Linked DNA regions of Homo sapiens: region 1 is linked to region 2. The links are contacts of gene promoters, found by promoter capture Hi-C in human tissues and cell types (Jung and others, 2019). All regions are on one chromosome and are shown on one strand. Each heading gives the region's core, a stretch centred on a gene start or on the middle of the fragment in contact. The rest is flanking DNA. Distances are from core to core; before and after follow the strand shown.

What was found. The method cuts DNA at HindIII sites, captures the fragments that hold promoters and counts their contacts. A contact is called where the count stands out against the background at its distance.
Region 1: a fragment that was not itself captured here is called in contact with the fragment with the promoter of TLR9 in region 2 in 2 of the 25 tissues and cell types used here (adrenal gland and liver).

What each region holds. Positions count from the first base shown.
Region 1 is chr3:52,179,885-52,185,982 of GRCh38, reverse strand. No RefSeq gene overlaps it. Among named protein-coding and RNA genes, the nearest start is that of ALAS1, 15 kb to the left of the region's middle. RefSeq lists an enhancer at 629-1,464. The HindIII fragment of the contact is 5,026 bases long and covers 1-4,911 here.
Region 2 is chr3:52,222,867-52,229,722 of GRCh38, reverse strand. It overlaps TLR9 (toll like receptor 9), which reads left to right and starts at 4,078. Exons shown (of 2, transcript NM_017442.4): 1 at 4,078-4,196; 2 at 5,411-6,856. The coding sequence starts at 4,194. It overlaps TWF2 (twinfilin actin binding protein 2), which reads left to right. Exons shown (of 9, transcript NM_007284.4): 8 at 1-62; 9 at 522-1,111. The coding sequence ends at 689. RefSeq lists enhancers at 2,945-3,444, 3,599-3,688, 3,445-3,946, 4,199-4,298. The HindIII fragment of the contact is 19,187 bases long and covers 1-6,856 here.

The DNA of each region.
Region 1 (6,098 bases), core at 1,149-3,648, 42 kb after region 2:
ACTCACACCGGGGTCCACTGGGACTGTGCCTTCATTTCTCTGACCTGGGGAGTTGGAGAAGTTCAGCAGGGCTGGTGGCTCACAAGAGGTACCCAATGAGCATTTGTTGAATGAATGAATGAACATATGAATAAATGCATGAATGAATGGAGTGGGTAAATAAATGAGGATTATCTGTGAACTATGTGCAAGTGAGTGTGTGTGGGTGGGTCCTTAGGCCCCAGAGATAGGGCCGTTTGTGGGCCCAGAGATGGGGCCATTTGTGGGCAGGTTGTGTCAGCAAAGAGGTGAGTGTGGAAAGCTAGGGTCAGATGGCTGGTCAGCAGATGGCCTGGAGAAGGCCAGGGGAAATGGAGCAAGGCCATTTACTAGGGGCCCAGTTGAGCATCTTCAGGAGCCTTCCTTGGGGAGATCTGTAAGTGTCCATGTCCCGACACTCTGCCACTCCACTGCCACCCATGCATACGCAAGCTCCCATGGGCCCTCCCGGGTGTCTATGTCATCCTCTCCAATGGCTCTCCCTAAGCTCACCCTGGGATAGGCCACCTCTGATCTCAGCCTGGTCTGTGGACGGTGTGGTCAGGAGTCAACTGAAGCCCCTTGAAGCTCAGCTGGGGTGGAGGCTGCAGTCAGACCCTCGTTCCCCCTCCTGGTCCCTCTCCCGCTCTCTTCCTTGACCACCACCTCAGAAGATGACCATAGCTGTGCAGCAGAAGGGCTCTCACTCTATATTTGTGTAACAACATCTAGAAAATAGTTTTCCACAGCCTGCCTGTGTCTTAGCAGACAGAAGACTGCTGGCCACTCTGAAGTGACATTTCAAGTTTGGAAGTTCTTAGGGCCTAGTGTCTGGCAGCGTGGTCTGCTGGTCACATTCCTACGTGCACACCCTGAAGGTCTCTCAAATACATGCAGAATCCCAGGCCCACAGCTGCCCAGGGTCACAAACACCCTTTCACACATGGCCACATGGCCAACCACTCTGGTCATAGGGATAGCAGCACCTTGTGACAGTTAGATACATGGTGTAGTCACAGCGTGCCTCGGGGGCTGTGACCTTGTCACAGAGGCACACATGTGCAGCCATGGTGTGCCATGATTGGGACGTCATCATACATAGGGTCACACACACGGGCTGAGCTGTGCAGGGCCGCAGGGTTGCTCTGCTTCACCCCTCACCTCCACCTCCCTACCGCAAGTGCAGCCTGGCTCCCTGGGATCGTGATCCCTTCCCCTGCGCTCATTCCTGATGAAGTCAGGACTATCAAGAGCCCCTGACTGGCCCTCCCTCTGCCTGCCTCCTCTGTGGCCATCCTGCTCAGGTCTGTCCCGATGGCTCTGTACACCCCTGAGAACTATTAAACTGACCAGAGCGTGGACCAGGGAGATCCCAAGGGCATGAGAGCCAAGCTGTGTGACCATAACAGTCATGTCTTGTTTCTGGACCTCAGATTCTCCACCTGTTTTTAAAAAAAATGTTATTGATGTATAATAGTTGTACATATTCTCCATCTGTTAATACAGGCATAGACCTGGTGGTTTCAAGGCTCTTCTGGCACCCGTGATGAGGAAAGCTGTGATTCTGTGGCCCCTCTGGCATTTCCTGGACCTTCGGGCTTCTGAGTCTATTTGAACTTCATGGCCAGGTGCCTCTCACTAATGAAAGGGCCTCCACTGAGATTTCCTTGGGAACAAAGGAGAGCTCAGTTGTTCTTGAGGCCTCAAAGGGGCCCCTGAGGCAGGCCTGATGCCCGGCTGTGTGCAAGGACCAGAGGAGTGGCTGCCCAGCCTGGAGGCAGGTGCTGGCTGGACTGACCTCCTGGGACCCACTTAAGCTTTCTACAAACAACACATCATCTGGGCTGAGTGGGGGGTTCTCGGGGCAAAAAAAAAAAAAAAAGTCTTCTACGGAAGCTGCCTTGTGACTTGGCCCTGAGCTCAGGCAGGGTGGGGACCCTGAGCACCAGAGAGGTCATTGTTCCGTGAAAGCCAAGGCGGCAACCCCTCCCTCTTCCCCTTCTTGTGCTTGGAACCTCCAGACCCCTGGACTCCCAGGGGAGCCCAGGGAGTCAGTGTATGAGGTGCTGAAGCCAAGTCCTTCCAGAGCTTGGGGGAAGGTCAGTTGGTTTATAAATCACCTGAATTTCATCAGGGTCACCATGGGGGAGCTTCATGCATTTTTCAAAGGGCAGTTGTTGGGTGGTCACTCTGTGTTAGGCGCAGTGTAGGAGCCTGGAGAAATAAACCAAAATGTACCTGAAGTAGCATTTTTCAGTGTGGTCTATGTTCATGAAGTGGTCTCTGGAAAAAATATTCCATAGTCAAGTAAGTTAAGAAAGGGTATTATATAATTCACTTGGCCTGAGCAAAGGTGACCTGGTTTCTTTTTCGTGGGATTTGGAGAAGCTTTAAAAGGCAGTGTGTTTAGGCTGGGCTTGGTGGCTCAAGCCTGTAATCCCAGCGCTTTGGGAGGCCGAGGTGGGTGGATCGCCTAAGGTCAGGAGTTCAAGACCAGCCTGGCCAACATGGTGAAACCCATCTCTACTAAAAATACAAAAATTAGCTGAGCATGTGATGGCGGGCGCCTGTAATCCCAGCTACTCAGGAGGCTGAGGCAGGAGAATCGCTTGAACCTGGGAGGCAGAGGTTGCAGTGAGCCAAGATGGCGCTACTGTACTCCAGCCTGGGTGACAGAGCAAGACTCAGTCTCAAAAAAGAGAGAAAAAACAAAAAAAAAGCTGTGTGTTGAGAGAACTTAGGGGGTGTGAGTGCAGGAGCCTCATTTCCCACATGCAGCTGACCACAGAACTCATTCTGCTCATAGCAGCTATCTGGTGGGGTCTGGTGGGGTTGGAGTTCTCCAGGAGCCCTGCAGCAAGGCTGCTGGAGGGGTATAAGCCATCCCTGGAGGGCTCCTGTGACGCCATCTCTGTGCCCTGCCCCTGGTGTCCTGATTTAGCAGGGCGCCTGAGAATCTGCATTTCTGCAAGTTCTCAGGTGCTGCTGTTGGACCACACTTGGAAAACCACTGATCTATCTCAGAGCAGCCAGAGTGATCTTTTAAAAGCTAAGCTGCGTGAAGTTCCTTCTCTGCTCAAAGCACCCCCAGGGCTCACTGTCACTCAAGGTAGAAGCCAAGTTCTTACAGGAGTCCACAAGGCCCACCGACCTCTTTGACATTCACTCACAACTCACTTTTCTGTCCCTTAAACCCACCCTGCAAATCCTCAAGAGCACCTCAGGCCTTTGCTCCCTTCTGCCCATAATGGTCCTGCCCCAGATGTTGGTGGGGCAACCTGTTCCCATCCCCCAATTCCTCCACCCCTACTCTTGTACCCCTGCCTGCCCTGGCAGGGCAGCCTGTTGGTCACATTCATAGATGCACGCCCTGAATATCTCTCAGATACACATAATCTCAGGCCCACAGGTGCCCAGAGTCACAAACACCTAAGCAGCTGGGCTCTCACACAGGAGGACACAGAGGGGGCTTTCTGGTCCCATATACATCTAGCACCTCGGGAAGGGGTTGAGAGGGAGCTGAGGTGTCCAGGCTGGGGCACAGGGGAGTGACTCTGTGGGCAGCTGTGTGCTCTGTCACTGGTTCCATGAACCTTATCAGCGCTGCCCTCATCCTAACCCCGGAGCACTCTGTGTTCTTGATGCATCTGCACAGAGGTCACGGCAGCACAGATGAACTTAGCTCACCCAGCTGCCCACAGTGACCCCGATAAGCTTGCAAGGCATCCTGTGGCAGAAACCAGAAGGTTCTGAGTTGGGCAGGAAATAGGGCCAAGCCTGTCTTCTCCACCCCAACCTCCATTGGCCCTGACCTGGCTTGGGGATGACCCTGGTGGGTAGCTGGGGGGGAAAGGTTTAGCTTAGGCCTGTCTGACTGCCAGATGCATGGGTGTTATGGAGAGGGGATGGGGGAATGTCAGACTTGGCTCTGACCTTCTCCTCTGTTGAGTGGGGAATGGCTGCCTATAATCTTCACTGGGGTCCCTGGGGCCTGTCTGATTCTATGTCCTGACCCCTCTGCCCTGTGGGTGGGTGTGCTGGTGGCATACAGAGTCTGCCACCCCATCGAGCCAAGGCTGTGGGTCTGAGTAGCCTTAGGTGCAGAGGCTGTCTGCGAATTTGCACATGATGTCAGTGGTGGCCTTGCTCAACATTCCCAAGGAATTTTCTGACTAGCAAAGCTTTGATTTTGGCAGCTCTTCTGCCCAGGAAGCTGACGTTATGCCCTGAGCTCAGCTCTGCTGAGCAGGTGAGTGCAGGCTGAGGCCCCTGAGTCCCCTGTCCTGGCCCTCCTGGGTGGATTCCATGGGTGGTCCTTTGCCTCCTGTGCGTGTGTGAGTATGTGGACACATGCAGGGAAAGTCTGCCAGCCTGAGCTCCCTCAGCCTCCCTTAGCCTGCCCTTCTTTTTAAAGCTACCATTTATTGAGAGTTTACCATGTTCTAGGCCTGTGGTTAAATCCTTACAGCAACCCTACGCCCTAGGGTTGTTGTAAAGATATATTCAAATCCTAACATCCAGTACCTGTGAATATGACCTTATTTGGAAATAGGTGCTTTGCAGCTGTTATTAAATTAAAAAGAGTTTTTCCATTTGTTCGTGTCCTCTCCTTTCCTTGAGCAGTGGTTTGTAGTTCTCCTTGAAGAGGTCCTTCACATCCCTTGTTAGCTGTATTCCTAGGTATTTTATTCTCTTTGTAGCAATTGTGAATGGGAGTTCACTCATGATTTGGCTCTCTGTCTATTTTTGGTGTATAGGAATGCTTGTGATTTTTGTACATTGATTTTGTATCCTGAGACTGCTGAAGTTGCTTAAGGAGATTTTGGGCTGAGACGGTGGGGTTTTCTTTTTTTTTTTGAGATGGAGTCTCACTCTGTCACCCAGGCTGGAGTGCAGTGGCGCAATCTCTGCTCACTGCAAGCTCCGCCCTCGGGTTCATGCCATTCTCCTGCTTCAGCCTCCCAAGTAGCTGGGACTATAGGCGCCCGCCACCATGCCCGGCTAATTTTTTTGTATTTTTAGTAGAGACGGGGTTTCACCGTGTTCGCCAGGATGGTCTCAATCTCCTGACCTTGTGATCTGCCCACCTCAGCCTCCCAAAGTGCTGGGATTACAGGCCTTAGCCACCATGCCCTTCGACAGTGGGGTTTTCTAAATATACAATCAGGTCATTTGCAAACAGAGACAATTTGACTTCCTGTCTTCCTATTTGAATACCCTTTATTTCTTTCTCTCACCTGATTGCCCTGGCCAGAACTTCCAATACTGTGTTGAATAGAGGTGGTGAGTGAGAGAGAGCATCTTTGTCTTGTGCTGGTTTTCAAAGGGAATGCTTCCAGCTTTTGCCCATTCAGTATGATATTGGCTGTGGGTTTGTCATAAATAGCTCTTATTATTTTGAGATACCATCAATACCTAGTTTATTGAGAGTTTTTAGCATGAAGGGGTGTTGAATTTTATTGAAGGCCTTTTCTGCATCTGTTGAGATAATCATGTGGTTTTTGTTGTTGGTTCTGTTTATGTGATGGATTACGTTTATTGATTTGCGTATGTTGAACCAGCCTTGCATCCCAGGGATGAAGCCGAGTTGATCGTGGTGGATAAGCTTTTTAATGTGCTGCTGGATTCAGTTTGCCAGTATTTTATTGAGGATTTTTGCATCGATGTTCATCAGGGATATTGGCCTGAAATTTTCTTTTCATCTCACGCCGGTTAGAATGGCGATCATTAAAAAGTCAGGAAAGGACAGATGCTGGAGAGGATGTGGAGAAATAGGAACGCTTTTACACTGGTGATGGGAGTGTAAATTAGTTCAGCCATTGTGGGAGACAATGTGGTGGTTCCTCAAGGACCAAAAATACCATTTGACCCAGCAATCCCATTACCGAGTATAAAGGATTATAAATCAATCTACTATAGGCTGGACGTTGTGGCTCATGCCCGTAATCCCAGCACTTTGGGAGGCTGAGGCGGGTAGATTACTTGAGGTCAAGAGTTTGAGACCAGCCTGGTCAACATGGTGAAACCTCGCTTCTACTAAAAAATACAAAAATTTGGCCGGGCTCAGTGGCTCATGCCTA
Region 2 (6,856 bases), core at 2,829-5,328:
GCTGCAAGAGCCGCCTCCTCGACTCCGTGGAGCAGGACTTCCATCTGGAGATCGCCAAGAAAGTAGGCGCCCTCCCCAGGGCCTCACCTCCCCAGGCCCTATCACTCCAATCTCCATGTGGGGCGCTGGGGTCCTGAGATGACGGCAGAGCAGGAATCGTTGCTGTCGTGTTGATCATAGGGCATCTGAGGCCCAAGGAGCAACACGCATGGCCCAAGGCTGCCCAGCTGATCGGTGGCTCAGAAAAGTCCAAGTCCTGGCTACCATGTCATGTCCTTTCCCTGGGCCTGGAGACAGGGAGGAGGTGACCCCAGCGAGCAGAGTCCAAGGCATGCAGGGCAGCAGGCCCTAAGCTCTTGCTTTCCTGGGAGTGGCATTCCAGGTGGGGAATCAAGGGGAGACCTCAGGAGACCCCAGGGCTAGGATGTGAGAGTAAGGGGTGCCCCAGGAGTGGGGGCTACCAGGGGTGGTGTGTGTCAGAGCCCCTCCCATTGGGGTGACCACTGCCTTGCCCCATGCAGATTGAGATTGGCGATGGGGCAGAGCTGACGGCAGAGTTCCTCTACGACGAGGTGCACCCCAAGCAACACGCCTTCAAGCAGGCCTTCGCCAAGCCCAAGGGCCCAGGGGGCAAGCGGGGCCATAAGCGCCTCATCCGCGGCCCGGGTGAAAATGGGGATGACAGCTAGGAGGCTGGAGCAGGGCCGGCCACGTGTGGACTGTGGGGCTGCCCACCTTCCGCTCCCTGCCACCATCCTCCTTCCTGGGCTCCAGGAAAGTGTTTCTGGGAGGTCAGGAGGGCTGGCAGCTGAACGCACTTGCAGCGTCCGAGGGCCACCGGGCTGGCATTTTGTGACCCTTCCCTGTTGCTGTCCCTGCATCTCGTCTGTGTGCCCAGGGTGTCCGGGGACCCTGCCTGGCTGGCTTAAGGGGGCTGGGTCAGGGGCCTGGCATGAACCTGGCCTCCCGGGGAGCTGAGACTAGGGTCCCAGCACAGCCCAGAAACCTTTGGCCACAAGAAGTGGGGTCAGTCAGGGCTGGGGCAGGGGTCACTGCAGTTTGGGATGGTTGAATGCTGTATTTTCTAAAGAATAAAATATTTTTAAATCAAGACTTGTGCTTGGCCCTGAGAGACCGCCTCTGGCCCTGGGAATTGGGCAGTCTTGTGCATATAACTGTCCTTTCCCAACAGGGGAGAGGGGAGTGCCGGCCTGCGAGGTGGAGCCCCAGCACTCCACCTCCAGGTGTGTGGGAGAGGCTGTGCCTGTGAGTGGGCGTGCAGCCTCACGCGGGTCTCCCAGTCAACAGGAGCCCTGCTGGAGAGGCAGGCGCGCCTCCACTGTGACATGAGGGATCTGCATATGGTCATTTGCTGAGGCTGCCGTAACAAATTACCACCAACTTAGTGGCTTCGAAGAAACTCAAATGTATTCTCTTACAGTTCTGGAGGCTGGAAGACTGAGATGGGTCTCACAGGGCCAAAGTTGAGGTGTTGGCAGGGCTGGCTGTGTCTGGGCCCCTCAGAAGAACCCATCTCCTGGCCTTTTCTGGCTGTATTCCTTGGCTTGGGGCCCCTTCCTCCACCTTCAAAGCCAGAGGTGACATCTCTGATTCTGCTTTCCTCAGCCTCTGGGCTCCCATGGCCTTTTGTAGTCGAATCTCCCTCTGTCTCCATTTCATAAGGGACATTGTAATTGCATTCACCCTCCCTGCCCCCACCACCTACCCCTGTCAAGATGGGTAACTTAATCACATCTGCGAAGTCGTTTTTGCCACACTGTGGGGTGTTGGGGTCACGTGTTTGCAGGTTTGGGGAATTAGGACAAGGATCTCTGAGAGGGACTTTATGCAGCCTCCCACATGGGATAAGGGCTCCTCCTCGAAGGCTTCCCAGCCTCCCTGGGCTGAGGCCAGGACAAGTTTTTCTGTGGACATCGATATCGGTGTCTCCAAGCTGAGTGTGTCCATGTGCGTGGGTCTGTACCTGTGTGTGCAGACCCCTCTGTCAGCTTACTGGCCTCTCTGGTTTTCTGCCTCCAAAGAAGGCAGGGCCACTGCTGGGTATGGGGGTCTGGGTCCCTGGTCCAAGGGACTCTGGGAAAGTCTCAGGCTTGGGGCTCCACAGGAGCCCGAGCTTTGGTGTATCCCTCTGAGAGGTGGATGGAGGGAATGAATGCAGGTGCCTTCCACCCCAGGCAGGCAGGAGTGGAAGCATGGGGTTGATGCCTGCAGCCCAGCTACTGAGTGGGCACTGCTCTCCTTCCTGGCTCAGGGCAACATTCTATCCCTGGCGCCTTTCTGAGCCCCTGCTCAAGCCCCTAGAATTGTAGAGAGGAGAGCCAGACTAGCTAAGACCCAGAGGAGGCTTGTCCTTGCCCAGCCGAAACATTGGCTCCCAGGTGGGCAGGAAGACGATGCCATCGCCCCCTGCTGCTGAGCCAGCCAGATGCCTGGCACTATGGAGCCTGCCTGCCATGATACCACCCAGAGTGGGCCTGGGGGGAGCAGGCTGGCAGATGTGCAGCCTTGCCTCCTCCCAGCAGCAACAATTCATTAATTCATTCATTCAGCCTTCACTCAGAAATACCCTCTCTGTGCCTGCCCAGAGCTGACTGCTGGGTGTACATAATTCAGCAGATATCAAGCACTTACTATGTGCTGGGCACTGTACTGGATCCTGGGGATGCAGATAAAAGATCACTGCCCTTAAGAAGCTGACATTCCAGCAGGGGAATAAGACGATATACAATAAACCATGAAAGATCAATGATCCGGTGTGCTAGCAGTTAAAAAATGTTAGGACAAAGAGAAACATAGACCAGGCAAAGGAGCTCAGGAGTGCCAGATCTGGGGTGGGAGGTTTGTAAGAAGGCTGGATGGCCCTGTTGAGAGGGTGACATGGGAGCAGAGACATAATGGAGGCAAAGGAGGGGTCATATGAGACTTGGGGGAGTTTTCAGGCAGAGGGAACAGCACATCCCAAGGCCCTGAGGCAGGAGAATGCCCAGGGGCTACACAGTCAACTGCAAGCAGGCCAGTGGGCCTGGAGAGCACTCAGGGGAACAGCGGGTGGCAGGTCCCATAGGGCCTTGTTGGCCATCTGTGGACTGTGGCTTTGACTCCAGAGTCAGCCAGGGAGGGGTCTGAGCAGAGGAGGGACCTAGTGTGACTTAGGTTTGAACAGTTCCCTCTAGGGGCTGAATGTGACCAGCCCCTGGAGGGCAGAGAGCAGGGCAGGACAGCCAGAAGGGAGGTGGCACCTGCATGGGTCTAGGAGAGAGGATGGGGGCTGGTGGACATGGGGACGGTGGGCTGTGGGCACACCCTTCAGCATGGTGGACCCAGCAGAACTTGCTGAGGGGCCCGGGGTCACCCAAGGCTTTGGGCCCGAGGAATCTGAGTCTCCTCACCTAGATCAGAAGGAGAGTGGGAAGAACTGATGGGGAGGACTGGCTGGCGGCCCTGCTGGGCCAGCACACACCTGGCCTCTAGGAGCCCCATCTGGAGTGACGTGGTGTGTGCTCTGATGGGGCCCCAGGGGCTCTGGGAATGTGGAGGAGGAGGTCTTGTTTCCGGAAGATGTTGCAAGGCTGTGGTGAAGGCAGGTGCAGCCTAGCCTCCTGCTCAAGCTACACCCTGGCCCTCCACGCATGAGGCCCTGCAGAACTCTGGAGATGGTGCCTACAAGGGCAGAAAAGGACAAGTCGGCAGCCGCTGTCCTGAGGGCACCAGCTGTGGTGCAGGAGCCAAGACCTGAGGGTGGAAGTGTCCTCTTAGAATGGGGAGTGCCCAGCAAGGTGTACCCGCTACTGGTGCTATCCAGAATTCCCATCTCTCCCTGCTCTCTGCCTGAGCTCTGGGCCTTAGCTCCTCCCTGGGCTTGGTAGAGGACAGGTGTGAGGCCCTCATGGGATGTAGGCTGTCTGAGAGGGGAGTGGAAAGAGGAAGGGGTGAAGGAGCTGTCTGCCATTTGACTATGCAAATGGCCTTTGACTCATGGGACCCTGTCCTCCTCACTGGGGGCAGGGTGGAGTGGAGGGGGAGCTACTAGGCTGGTATAAAAATCTTACTTCCTCTATTCTCTGAGCCGCTGCTGCCCCTGTGGGAAGGGACCTCGAGTGTGAAGCATCCTTCCCTGTAGCTGCTGTCCAGTCTGCCCGCCAGACCCTCTGGAGAAGCCCCTGCCCCCCAGCATGGTAGGACAACAGCTCTCAGTCCCCTGGGGAAGGGGATATCCTGGGAAGGGGTGGGGAAAGAAGTGGGCTTGGCAGCTGCAAGCAACAGTGACGGGTTGTCACCCACATGGCCCTGGGGACACTCACTGAATCCTGAAGACTTCAGAGCCGAAGCCCTCTTCTTTTTTCTTTTTTTTTTTTTTTGAGACGGAGTTTCGCTCTTGTTGCCCAGGCTGGAGTGCAGTGGCTTGATCTCAGCTCACTGCAATCTCCACCTCCCGGGTTCAAGTGATTCTCCTGCCTCAGCCTCCCAAGTAGCTGGGATTATGGCTTGCGCCACCATGCCTGGCTAATTTTGTATTTTTAGTAGAGCCAGGGTTTCTCCATGTTGGTCAGGCTGGTCTTGAACTCCAGACCTCAGGTGATCTGCCCACTTCGGCTTCCCAAACTGCTGGGATTACAGGTGTGAGCCACCGTGCCCAGCCACTGAAGCCCTCTTCTGAGCAATGAGACCCAAACCCCCAGAGGGGACGAGGAGACTGAGGCACTGATGGAGCTGGGGCTGGAGCCTGGGTTTGGGTCTCACTGGGCCTGTAGCTTGGGGCTGGCTCTGTCTGGCACTTTGCAGGCCACCCCTCTCTCCATCTGTTCTGACCCATAAGGCAAAGGCTCTCGGGCTAGGTGAGGCAGGCAGAGAGTGATGGAGCTGTGCAGTGCCCTCTGGCCAGGGTCCCTGGGAGGCAGCCGGCCTGGGCCATAGTGGGAGACTCTCACACCTGCCTGAATCTTGGCCGAAGGAAAAGGAAGGGGTTGTGGGGTGGCTGGTGGAGGGCAGAGAGCGGATTTCAGGGCAGCTGGAGGGGAGGGAGCCAGCTGCCACCTTGCTCAGGAGCAGGAAGGGAAAGTCGGGGAGAGACCAGGGGGGGCCGTGGGCCACCTTGCCTGGCCTGGTATAGCCAGGGATTGGTTAAGTGAAAGCTGTAGATCATAAGTCTGGATTCTAGGTCTCAGTCCTGGTTCTGAAGCCTAATTCTGAGTCCAAGACTGGGTCTGAGACTGAGTTCAGGTTCCCCACAAGCCATGGGGGATGGGAATGGGGCTTGGCAGCCAGGAAGAACTTCTGCAGGTAGGGCTTGGAGAGAGGGGTTGGAAGATGCTAGAAGATGCCCATGAAGTGGAGTGGGTGGAGGTAGAGCTGGGGGCCGGCCACTCACACAGCCCTCCCACCCCCACAGGGTTTCTGCCGCAGCGCCCTGCACCCGCTGTCTCTCCTGGTGCAGGCCATCATGCTGGCCATGACCCTGGCCCTGGGTACCTTGCCTGCCTTCCTACCCTGTGAGCTCCAGCCCCACGGCCTGGTGAACTGCAACTGGCTGTTCCTGAAGTCTGTGCCCCACTTCTCCATGGCAGCACCCCGTGGCAATGTCACCAGCCTTTCCTTGTCCTCCAACCGCATCCACCACCTCCATGATTCTGACTTTGCCCACCTGCCCAGCCTGCGGCATCTCAACCTCAAGTGGAACTGCCCGCCGGTTGGCCTCAGCCCCATGCACTTCCCCTGCCACATGACCATCGAGCCCAGCACCTTCTTGGCTGTGCCCACCCTGGAAGAGCTAAACCTGAGCTACAACAACATCATGACTGTGCCTGCGCTGCCCAAATCCCTCATATCCCTGTCCCTCAGCCATACCAACATCCTGATGCTAGACTCTGCCAGCCTCGCCGGCCTGCATGCCCTGCGCTTCCTATTCATGGACGGCAACTGTTATTACAAGAACCCCTGCAGGCAGGCACTGGAGGTGGCCCCGGGTGCCCTCCTTGGCCTGGGCAACCTCACCCACCTGTCACTCAAGTACAACAACCTCACTGTGGTGCCCCGCAACCTGCCTTCCAGCCTGGAGTATCTGCTGTTGTCCTACAACCGCATCGTCAAACTGGCGCCTGAGGACCTGGCCAATCTGACCGCCCTGCGTGTGCTCGATGTGGGCGGAAATTGCCGCCGCTGCGACCACGCTCCCAACCCCTGCATGGAGTGCCCTCGTCACTTCCCCCAGCTACATCCCGATACCTTCAGCCACCTGAGCCGTCTTGAAGGCCTGGTGTTGAAGGACAGTTCTCTCTCCTGGCTGAATGCCAGTTGGTTCCGTGGGCTGGGAAACCTCCGAGTGCTGGACCTGAGTGAGAACTTCCTCTACAAATGCATCACTAAAACCAAGGCCTTCCAGGGCCTAACACAGCTGCGCAAGCTTAACCTGTCCTTCAATTACCAAAAGAGGGTGTCCTTTGCCCACCTGTCTCTGGCCCCTTCCTTCGGGAGCCTGGTCGCCCTGAAGGAGCTGGACATGCACGGCATCTTCTTCCGCTCACTCGATGAGACCACGCTCCGGCCACTGGCCCGCCTGCCCATGCTCCAGACTCTGCGTCTGCAGATGAACTTCATCAACCAGGCCCAGCTCGGCATCTTCAGGGCCTTCCCTGGCCTGCGCTACGTGGACCTGTCGGACAACCGCATCAGCGGAGCTTCGGAGCTGACAGCCACCATGGGGGAGGCAGATGGAGGGGAGAAGGTCTGGCTGCAGCCTGGGGACCTTGCTCCGGCCCCAGTGGACACTCCCAGCTCTGAAGACTTCAGGCCCAACTGCAGCACCCTCAACTTCACCTTGGATCTGTCACGGAACAAC